Regions from separate parts of the Homo sapiens genome. Here all the other regions are linked to region 2. Evidence: promoter capture Hi-C in 16 types of primary human blood cells and fetal thymus (Javierre and others, 2016). All regions are on one chromosome and are shown on one strand. The core of a region is centred on a gene start or on the middle of the fragment in contact, and the rest is flanking DNA. Distances in the headings are between cores, read along the strand shown. Region 1 overlaps SPOCK3 (SPARC (osteonectin), cwcv and kazal like domains proteoglycan 3). Region 2 holds the start of SPOCK3 (SPARC (osteonectin), cwcv and kazal like domains proteoglycan 3). Region 3 overlaps SPOCK3 (SPARC (osteonectin), cwcv and kazal like domains proteoglycan 3).

What was found. Contacts are between HindIII fragments. The CHiCAGO score rates a contact against its expected background, and 5 or more counts as called.
Region 1: a fragment that was not itself captured here is called in contact with the fragment with the promoter of SPOCK3 in region 2 in 1 of 17 cell types (monocytes); the score reaches 5.0 in monocytes.
Region 3: a contact is called between a fragment that was not itself captured here and the fragment with the promoter of SPOCK3 in region 2, in 1 of 17 cell types (monocytes). The highest score is 6.4, in monocytes.

The regions. Positions count from the first base shown.
Region 1 is chr4:167,061,956-167,065,271 of GRCh38, forward strand. It overlaps SPOCK3 (SPARC (osteonectin), cwcv and kazal like domains proteoglycan 3), which reads right to left. Exons shown (of 11, transcript NM_001040159.2): 3 at 537-582. Among named protein-coding and RNA genes, the nearest start is that of SPOCK3, 170 kb to the right of the region's middle. The HindIII fragment of the contact is 4,466 bases long and covers 1-3,316 here.
Region 2 is chr4:167,232,766-167,236,088 of GRCh38, forward strand. It overlaps SPOCK3 (SPARC (osteonectin), cwcv and kazal like domains proteoglycan 3), which reads right to left and starts at 1,729. Exons shown (of 11, transcript NM_001040159.2): 1 at 1,685-1,729; 2 at 1,220-1,408. The coding sequence starts at 1,408. The HindIII fragment of the contact is 4,219 bases long and covers 1-3,323 here.
Region 3 is chr4:167,041,770-167,044,913 of GRCh38, forward strand. The region is part of intron 3 of SPOCK3 (SPARC (osteonectin), cwcv and kazal like domains proteoglycan 3); the gene reads right to left. Among named protein-coding and RNA genes, the nearest start is that of SPOCK3, 190 kb to the right of the region's middle. The HindIII fragment of the contact is 345 bases long and covers 1,415-1,759 here.

The DNA.
Region 1 (3,316 bases), core at 17-2,516, 170 kb before region 2:
TTTTCCTTTTAAAGGTAAGTTAATCAGAATTGCAAACTGTTTGAAAGGAGGTGGGGAAGCCCTAATTTTGTATAACACGTTTCCTTTTGGGGCTTGTTAAGACCCCAGCTGAGTCTAATTACTAATTTACTAGTCTTAAAGGAAACCTTTTATTAATTGGAAAAGAGGCAAAAAAAGCCATTTGTTTTAAAAGTTTGTACAAATAAATCTATTGCCCAGTGAATGTACTTGAAAACTGGATGAAGTGACTTGTATCTACTGATAAAAATAAACCTGGTAAGGTTCAGAAGCCCAAATCAGTCATCTAAAACATGTATCTAAAAATAAAAGACATCCTGACATAATCATGATAACTAATTAGCTTACTTCTAAAAATATTATGCTGAAATGTAAGTAATTATTGCACAAATTTTTCCATTCATGTAAGCTCTTCTATTTAGTATTTTCAAGCCTAACCAGACAGTAAATATCATTTCTAAAAGTACAATGATTATGAACATGTAAAGGTTTTTATTTTAAAATAGTTAGATTCTTACCCTGATCGAAGGGTTTTCCTGGACTCCAAGTGCGGAAATAATCATCCTAAGGGGGAAAATAATGTGAATTGAGTGTATACAAGTAATTAAAACGCAAGGGTTCATATAAAATCTAAAATTAAATATGAAACACAGAAGCTGTATACAAACCTCTACTTCCTGCAATGGCAAGCAGCAAATTATAAAATAAATAAATAAAAATAAAAAAGAAACAAGAGAAAAAGAATAGTTATCAAAAAGGAACACACTGTTTTCAAGTTACAGAAATGTCTTTCAATAAACCTGTTCATTTTCATTGCAAGTCAATGGTTACTATAACAATTTAACTATTTTTGGTTGCCACTTCTCCTAAATATTACAATGCAATATTTTCAATTACAATTCAGTGCATAATATAACATGCAGATAATTACCTAAAGCTAATAAGCTATAAAGTATCTTACCAGTTTCCAATTATACAACTTCATTGTCCCCTAGTACAACAATAAGTGGAACTATTAATTTAGCAGGGAAAATACCAAGTGATTCTGCAGTGGCCCATGGAGTGTAAATATGCTTTATGCAAATCATTCTCTTGCTAATCGAATATCTAAGAAGTTCATCAAAATGCAATCTAGAGGTTGAAAAGAATGCACACCTAATTAAGTCCTGCCTAAAGTTTAATTCTTTAATATGGAAAAGAATCAATGCAATATATTTACGATATACTTAGTAAATATGACAGTACAGCACAAATGTAGGGCAACGTATACTGAAAAGAATTTTTAAAAGTAAGGCCAAATAGACTATGTCTATTTACCGTTTTTACCACTCTAAAAGCCTTATAAAATTCCTCATTAATATCATATTTTATTATAAATTAAAAAGATATCACTGTTGAAATTAACATACTGTTGTCACTATGGTAACCTGCCAAAAGAGAGTAGCACATCATGGTGAAGCTGTAACATTTCCAAGCTCTAAACTGTTAGACCCACTCAAGTCAGTTAATTGGAAAGCTACAGAAGTTACAGAATTCAAAAGGGGTCAGCAGAGATTCTTTCTCTTTGTATCAATGTAAGGGGTATAAATGCGGTTTTGCTACATGAATATCACATAGTGGTGAAGTCTCAGCTTGTAGTGTAACCATCACCTGAATAGCGTACATTGTTCCCATTAAGTAATTTCTCAGCTTTCACCCCTCACACCGTCCCACCCTTCCAAGTATCTCGTGTATTATTTCATACTCTATGTCAATGTGTACACATTATTTAGCTCCTACTTACAAGTGAGAACATGAGGTATTTGACTTTCTCTTTCTGAGTTGTTTCACTTAAAATAATGGCCTTCAGTTCCACCCACGTTGAGGCAAAAGACATAATTTCATTCCCTTTTATGGCTGAATAGTATTTCATTTCCTTTATCCAATCAACTGTTGATGGGCAGTTAGATTAAATCTAATATATTTACGGTTCTGAATAGTGCTGTGATAAACATATGAGTGCAATTATCAGTTTTATATAATGACTTATCTTCCTTTTTTGAATCTTCTTTCTAGCCTCTTTTTTAGTGTCTCCACTGTATAAGGAAGAAAATGTAGCACTGACTTCAATCATAGAAATAAATGCAATCCTTTAATTTATTTATGAAAATTTTAAATTAAGTTTCAGAAGTTTTTTTAATGTGACTAACAGTTAATCACTACCTTCTGTAATTGCACCCCACCAATTTCAAATTTTTTAAAAAATGAAACAAAAAGAAAAAAATGACATCACTGTAGTTGATATATTTATGTCCAGATAGGGTTATATTAAGAGGAGGGCAAATTATAGCAATCTATACACATAGATTTTCCACTAAATTATCTAGGATTAGATTAAGAAAGGATAATGCTACTGGATAATTAATAAACACTGATTATGTATTGTCTTTAAAATATTTTTAAATACAATTATAGCATGATACAATTCTTGGAAAATTAGACTTTCAAATTAAATTACTCCACTAAATGTCTCAAAACTTGAGCTGAGCAACGTAACATACTCATTTAATATCTTTTATTTTTAAAAATGTATCTTACTATTTGAGGATGATGACTATGATTCATTCCAAGCATGGGGAGGAATTGGGCAGCTACAGTTTTAGGCCTCTCCTGAAGCAGAACAGAAAGCTAGACATGCACACGTGAGTGATGGATTTGGAGACGGGCAAACCAGAATTTTAAGTCTGGCTCTACCACTTATTAGCTGCATCACTTTAGAAAAGATGATGGCCTAGACTATCCTCAGAGTCCTGTGATGAAAGTTGGAAAAATAATATCTACCTATTTGAGGGGGAGATATTGGGATTAGTTATCAAATGTGTAAAATGCCAGCACAGTATCTGGAATAAAGGAGGTGCTAAATCTTAATAGCTACTCATAAGGGTCAAGTTTATGTCTGTCAGTGTCTTTGGGCAACACCACGGACAAGCTGTCATTACTGCTCACCAAATCCTTTGTTTTTCTGATTTCTTACAAACAGCCATAAACTCCTCCTCCTCCTATTTTCAAATCCAATGCCCTCTCCAAAAAAAAAAAAAAAAAAAAAAAGTCAAACGCAGCAAATTTTTAAATACCTACATTTATTGCTATAGTAAATGCAAGAAGAAAAAATGTTTTTGCTGTCATCTCAGACTGTACTGACATGGTACAGCTACCAGTGGCAACACCCAAAAGGATGTGGCCAAGTTTTTATTGTTAATAGTGAGTCCATTCATGTAAACATCACAGAGCCCAAGAAGGTGGAAACCGTGTAGAACTG
Region 2 (3,323 bases), core at 479-2,978:
AACCTAATTTTAAAGTAAAAATTTGTGTTTCTTCAGGAATCCCTCTGCTAGATTTGGCTTGTCAGCTACTTCATGGAGAGGCTGAGAGAATGGGTTAGAGGAGGCAGGATGAAAGCTAGCCTAGGCTCCCTTTTATTTTCCTAAATGGTGACTGAGTCGGAGCTGATGAAAGAAGTTAACTCATCTCCACGTAGTGCACTGCAGATGGACTCCACGAGAAATTCTCTCAAATGTCACGGTAAGGATTGGCAATGTGTCTAGGAACCACTCTCGCTCCAGTTCAGGCCTTCCGCGTTTTAAAGGGTGGGCTAGGGGCGGTATTCAGCCAACAGGGCGGCCTCCTCACTGGGACAACCAAATTCAAGGCTTCCAGTTGTATCGTGCTCTGTACGTGAGCAGCTCTTACTGGGCTCCATTCAGATCAGGTGAGGAAAATAAAAATGACTGGCAAGCCATGGCCACTAGCTTCAAGTGTGGAAACCTGGCTCCCTCTTAATAACCCTTTTGAAAACTCCCCAGGGGAGTCTATGGTTTAACTCTTTTATCGCTGTCACCTGCAATCCTCCCGCCCTCGCAACCTCTTCCCGCAGAGTTCAAGGCAGTGATTCATTTTGGAATAAAATATAATCAAATGCATTGCAAAGATGTTCTAGATTAAAGTCATGTCGAAGCACAAATCTGATCGACAATTTTATGTAAGCGGGAGCGTTCAACGAGTCCTTACTGGTGCCGCCAAACATCCTCCCACCCTTGGAGAGCGGGCATTTATAAATCTTACATCTTCCTACCTCCTCCCTCAAATTCCTTAATGGACCATTAGTGACAGGATCGATCCTAGTTACTTTAGTAGCGATACATCGCAAAGGCACATCTGCTGTGTTTACCAGTGCCAGAAACACCATTCAAAAGTTGAGAGGTTAGAGCCAGCACTTTGTAACCTTTGTGGGCCGGGAGGGGGCACAGGGGAGAGCAGGGTGGGGGAGGAAGAGTGTGAACCTGGTGAGACCTGAACTCCTGTGCATCCAAGAAACAAGCCCTTGAACCAGCTGGGAGGGGGCAGCGGAACTGTGAACTTCTCCAGCAGCCCTGCGCCGCCGCGTTTCCCTAAACCCCTCTCCTCAGAAAACGGAGCCCACTCCCCACCCACATCCGGCGGCCGCGGCCCCCGCCTCGGAGCAGCGCGCGCGTGTGCCCGGGGATGTGGGTGCGCGGAACTTACGTCTCGGAATTTGTTCCACTGTCCGACTTCCTTGTCATACTGAGAGATTGTGGTGAGCCATTGTTTATCATCCAGAAAATTACCGCCGTCCGACCGCCCCCCGGCTGCAGCCACCGCCGCGGCAGCTGCGAGAGACTGACTGCACCAAGCGGCTGCACACACACACAGTACGGCTGACACCTTGAGCATCTGGGAGAGGAGACACAACGGGGGGTGGGGGGGCATGTCAGTGTCAAATAAGGGGTACGAAGCCAGGAGCGACCCTGGAAAACATGCATTAGCAACGACGAGGGTAGAGGGAGGAGGAGACAAGCAGAGGCAAGCGTGTCCCCTCCCCGCAGGCTTTACCCCCAAAAGCCGGGCACTCACACACACGCAGACCCAGAGGAGGAGAGGTGGGTATAAGGAAGCAAGCCCCAGCCGCAGCAGCCCGAGCGGGCACAAAACCGCTTCCTGGCACATCACCTTGTTGTGAGCCAGCACTGTGCTCGCAGCTCCTGCTGGAAATGCAGCCCTGCTCTGCCAACTCGCTGCTTTCTGGAGCTGCTGCACGCGCCGCCGTCTCGAGCCGTCCACTCAGCTCCCTGCGCCCGGCGCGCTCCCCCCATCTCCACCCTCCCTTCGCGCGCGGATCTCCAGCTTACTCCCCTCCGTTCCCCCTCCCTCCCCGACCTCCGTTTTTTTCCTCTTCCACCTCCTCCTATCCCACCTTCCTCTCGCTGGATCCCAGCTACAGTTGGCTCCGGATAGGACGCTTGGCTGGAGCCAGAGGACGAGGTAGCTCCTAGCCTAGGAATCCTTATCTGCTTTGTAACCTCTCCCCTCCAGAAGAGGTTCTCATGTTCGCGAGACAGCCTGCTCATTCTCTGCTCCTGGATTTAACACAAAGTGTACTATCTCTCGCAGTTGCCTCTGCTCCACAATTTCCAGGGTTGTCAGGCAGACGTGAGAAACAAGATCTGAGGAAAACTTTATGCATTAATAAATAAGAATACCTGGACTTCCTACCCTGTAAAGCTCCTGAACTCAGCTCCTCCCTAAAGAAAGGCCATCTATCCACAAGGTCTTGGGAGATCTGTTTAATTTCAGAAAATTTAAAGTTTGCTGTGAGCTTCTGGATTACTACCGACAGCAAACTTTCATGTTAAAGGTTGCAGTTTCTTTTTTTCTTTTCCTTTGTGTGTGTGTGTGTGTGTGTGTGTGTGTGTGTGTGTTTTGTTTTGAGAGACAGAAGCATAACGAGGTAGGGCGTTTGAGAACACCTATATCTCCTACATACTGTAGCTGCATTTTTCCCTTTATAAAAACTCCCTGGCAGCTTTATTTTAGAACGTAGAACCTGAATCGGAAACTTTAAAAGCCTACTGTCTCCCTCCTGCAAAATAAGACAGTTTTGAAGCCCGAACACCAATTTTGTATTCCAAACTTCCATTTATGACAAAATATTTGGCTTTCCATGTCGTTTCTACATATTCTAAATAAACTGGAAGGAAATCAGTAATTAGCCCCTTGTAGAGAAAATCTGATACAGAGAATCTCTCATATTTAGAGAATTTAGGTGAAGTGAATATTACACATAAATCAAGAAATGTCTGCAAGCCAATAGACTGCAATAACATTATGAATCTCTATTTGAATTATTAGAGATTTCAGCCAAAACTACATCTCCCAAAGCTACGACCTTTGAACATTTCTTGTAGCCTCCAAAACTTCAGAAGCTATTCGAATAGCAGCAGTACACATTTTCCATATCAATCTCGTCTAACATTTTGCAATCTATATTAACAAAACGACCAAACTCAATGTTTAATGTTAATTTCCTTTTTTAATGTAATATTTCAAAATAAATGTATAATATGTATGGTAGGAAATATAAGTGTAATATTTATATAGGAAAGAAATTTCTATTACTATTTTTAACTCAGAAAAAGATGTTTTTCTCAATTCCCCCCATTTCTACAGTGATGAATGCAATTAGTGGAGAAAAACACGGAACATACTACTGCAATTCATGGGAGCCCTGATTGACACGAACAAATGTCAGAAAACTTTAAGAATATAGATGTGTGCTAATTCTTCAAAGATATTTATTTTTGCCTGTTCA
Region 3 (3,144 bases), core at 337-2,836, 190 kb before region 2:
AAGAAATGGTAAGTGCTTAAAGTGATGGACATGGTATTTACTCTGATTTGATCATTATACCATGTATACATGCATTAAAACATCCCACTGAACTTCATAAATATATACAATTTTATGTATTAATTACAAATAAAAATTAAATGAAAAAATGGTAAAATGTAAATTATAAATATGATTTAAAATAACTTCCTCAATAATAAGCATTGCATTAAACAATTTCATGTTTAGATTTGAATGAAATAAAAGTATATTCAAAATTCCATTTTCCCTCCTATTAGAATTTTATTTAATCCTTTCATTAGATATATCAAGTGTAGCAATAGCTATCCAAACATAACAGATAACACAATGTACAGTCATCCTTTAGCACTGGCAGAGAATTGATTCCAGGATCTCCAGAAGACACAAAAATTTGCAGATGCCCAAGTCCTTTAGTCAGGCCTCCTTATCTATGAGTTTCGAATCAGGGGATTCAACCCATATGCAGGTATTTTCTATCCATCTGTGGTTGAATCCTTGGATGTGGAACCTATGGTTAAGGAGGGCTGACTGTAACTGCTGCTTATAGAATACTGAATTAGAGGAACAGAAACAACAAATAGGATATGTTATGTAATTGTTATGTAATTGTTTTAACTTAAACTATGTCTGGATCAAATACATATGATGTGGAGTTTGTGAAACTATAAAGTTCAGAGATCCAGGCATGGAGCTAATGATGTAGTAGACAGGCCTGGTGTTCATACTTTTGTCTGTTAAAGTCCTACCTAGTTGAGTTTCATGAGTAGACTGATCAGAAAACTCTGATTTACCAAATATGTCTTAAATTTGTGTGTGGAAGAAAAGAGAAACCTGAAAAGTAATTCATATTTAGGACAGTTTTATACTTACACCACCCCCTATAAAGGAAAAACAATAAATCCCTCTTAAGGTTAAAAAGGCTTTCATTAGAACATCTTCAAAAATGATCAAGTGTTTCTGAACATGTTCACAGAATTTTTAGATAAAATAGAATAATCAACCAAGTTTACTTCCAGATGCTTTATAAGGGCTTTAGGTTGATACCTAAGGGTCAAGTAAGTCATGCCAATAAGTGGGTTAAGGGGTAGTTATTTGTGTGCCCCTGATCATTGCTATTCACTAATGTTTACTTATTACTGGCAGCAGATTATCCTGTTTTTTAAGAGATGGTGGAATTTTGGTGAGGCACACACCACTGGTTCTCTCTTCAATAGCAACCTCATCACTTTTTCTGTCTCTACAGTTTTCTCTTTTGCAGAATGTCATTTAGGTGGCATTATATAGCATGGAGACTTTTCACATTGGCTTCTCTCACTTAGTAGTCTGCATCTTTCATTCCTCTGTGGCTTGATAGCTCATTATTTCATCAGTGTTTTCTGCTTTTCTTATAGAAAGCTTGTTTATATTTGGTTAGATTTATACCTAAGTATTTCATCCTAGAGGGTACTAATGTAAATGATATTGCATTAATGTAAAATCCCATTTGTTCTGAAGTATAGGAAGGCCATTGACTTTTGTATGATAGCTCTGTATTCTGCAACCTTGTTATAATCTTTATTAATTCCAGGAGGTTTTGTTTTAGGATTTTCTACATCAATGACACCAGGGAACAAAATCAGTTTTATTTATTCCTTTTCAATCTGTATATCATTGCTTCCTTTTCTGTTTCATTGCATTAGTTAGGACTTTCGTTATAAAGTTGAAAAGCAGTGGTGAAAAGGAACATTCTTATTCCTGAAGCTTAGAGTTTCTCATAATTAGGTATGATGGTAGCTACAGGTTTTTTATAGATGTTCTTTATCAGGTTGCAGAAGTCAACCTCTATTCCTACTTTATACATAGTTTTTATCATGAATAGGTGTTGAATTTTGTTAAATGCTTTTTCTCCATCTCTTTATGTTACTATGTAATTTTTTTTCTTCTCTATATTCTTAATGTGTTGGGATAACTGGTTTTGAATTATATTGAGCCAGCCTTGCATTCCCGAGATAAACCTCACTTGATTGTAGTGCATTAATCTTATAATACATTTTTGGACTGGATTTGCCAATACTTTATTGAAGACTTTTGCACCCATGTTATGAGAGATCCTAGTCTACAGTGTTTGTTTTCTTTTCTTTGTAATGTGTTTGTCTGATTTTGATATTAGCATGATGGTGGCCTTTTAGGATGAGTTAGGAAGTATTTCCTTTGATTCTTCTATCTTCTAAAAAATTGCGGAGAATTGTTTTATTCTTCTTTAAAGGTTGATTTGAACTCACCAGTATATCCAACTGAGTTTCATATTTTTTGTTTTGACAGGTTATTAATTTTTGACTCAACATCTTTAATAGATATCAGTCTACTAAAATTGACTATTTCTTCTTTTTCAGGTTTTAGCAGATTGTGTCTTTCAAATAATTGGTCCATTTCATCTAAGTTACCAAATTTGTGGGCACAGAGTTGTTCATAATATTTACTTATTATCCTTTTAATGTTCATGAAATCTGTAGCTATTTTGTCTCTTTCACTTCTGATAATAGTAATTTGTGACCCTTCTTTTTTCTTAGCCTGGCTAGAGTTTTGTCAATTTTAATGACCTTTTCAAAGAACCAGTTTCTGGTTTTGTTGTCTATTGATTTCCTTTTTTCAATTTAATTGATTTTTACTCTATTATTTTTTTCTCCTTCTTACTTCAGACTTAAATTTCTTTTCAAGTTTACTAAGAGCCTGTAAGACTGATTTTAGATCTTTCTTATTTTCTCATGTATGCATTCAATGGTATAAACTTCTTTGTAAGCACTGCTTTCACTGCACGCCACAAACAAATTTTGATAATTTGTTTTCACTTTTATTTAATTCAAAATATTTTAAAATTTCTCTTGGTATTTCTTCTTTGACACATGTGATATCTACAAGTATGTTGCTTAATCAACACATACTTTGGAATTTTCTGGTTATCTTTCTGTTATTGATTTCAACTTTAATTCCATTATGGGCAGTCAGCAGTTATTGTATGATTTTTATTACTTTAATTTGTCCAGGTGTGTTTTATGTCACAGCATGTGTCCTATATTGGTGAATGTTCCATGTGAGCTTGAAAAGGATGTTTACTCTGCTGTTGCTGGATGAAGCAGTCTATAG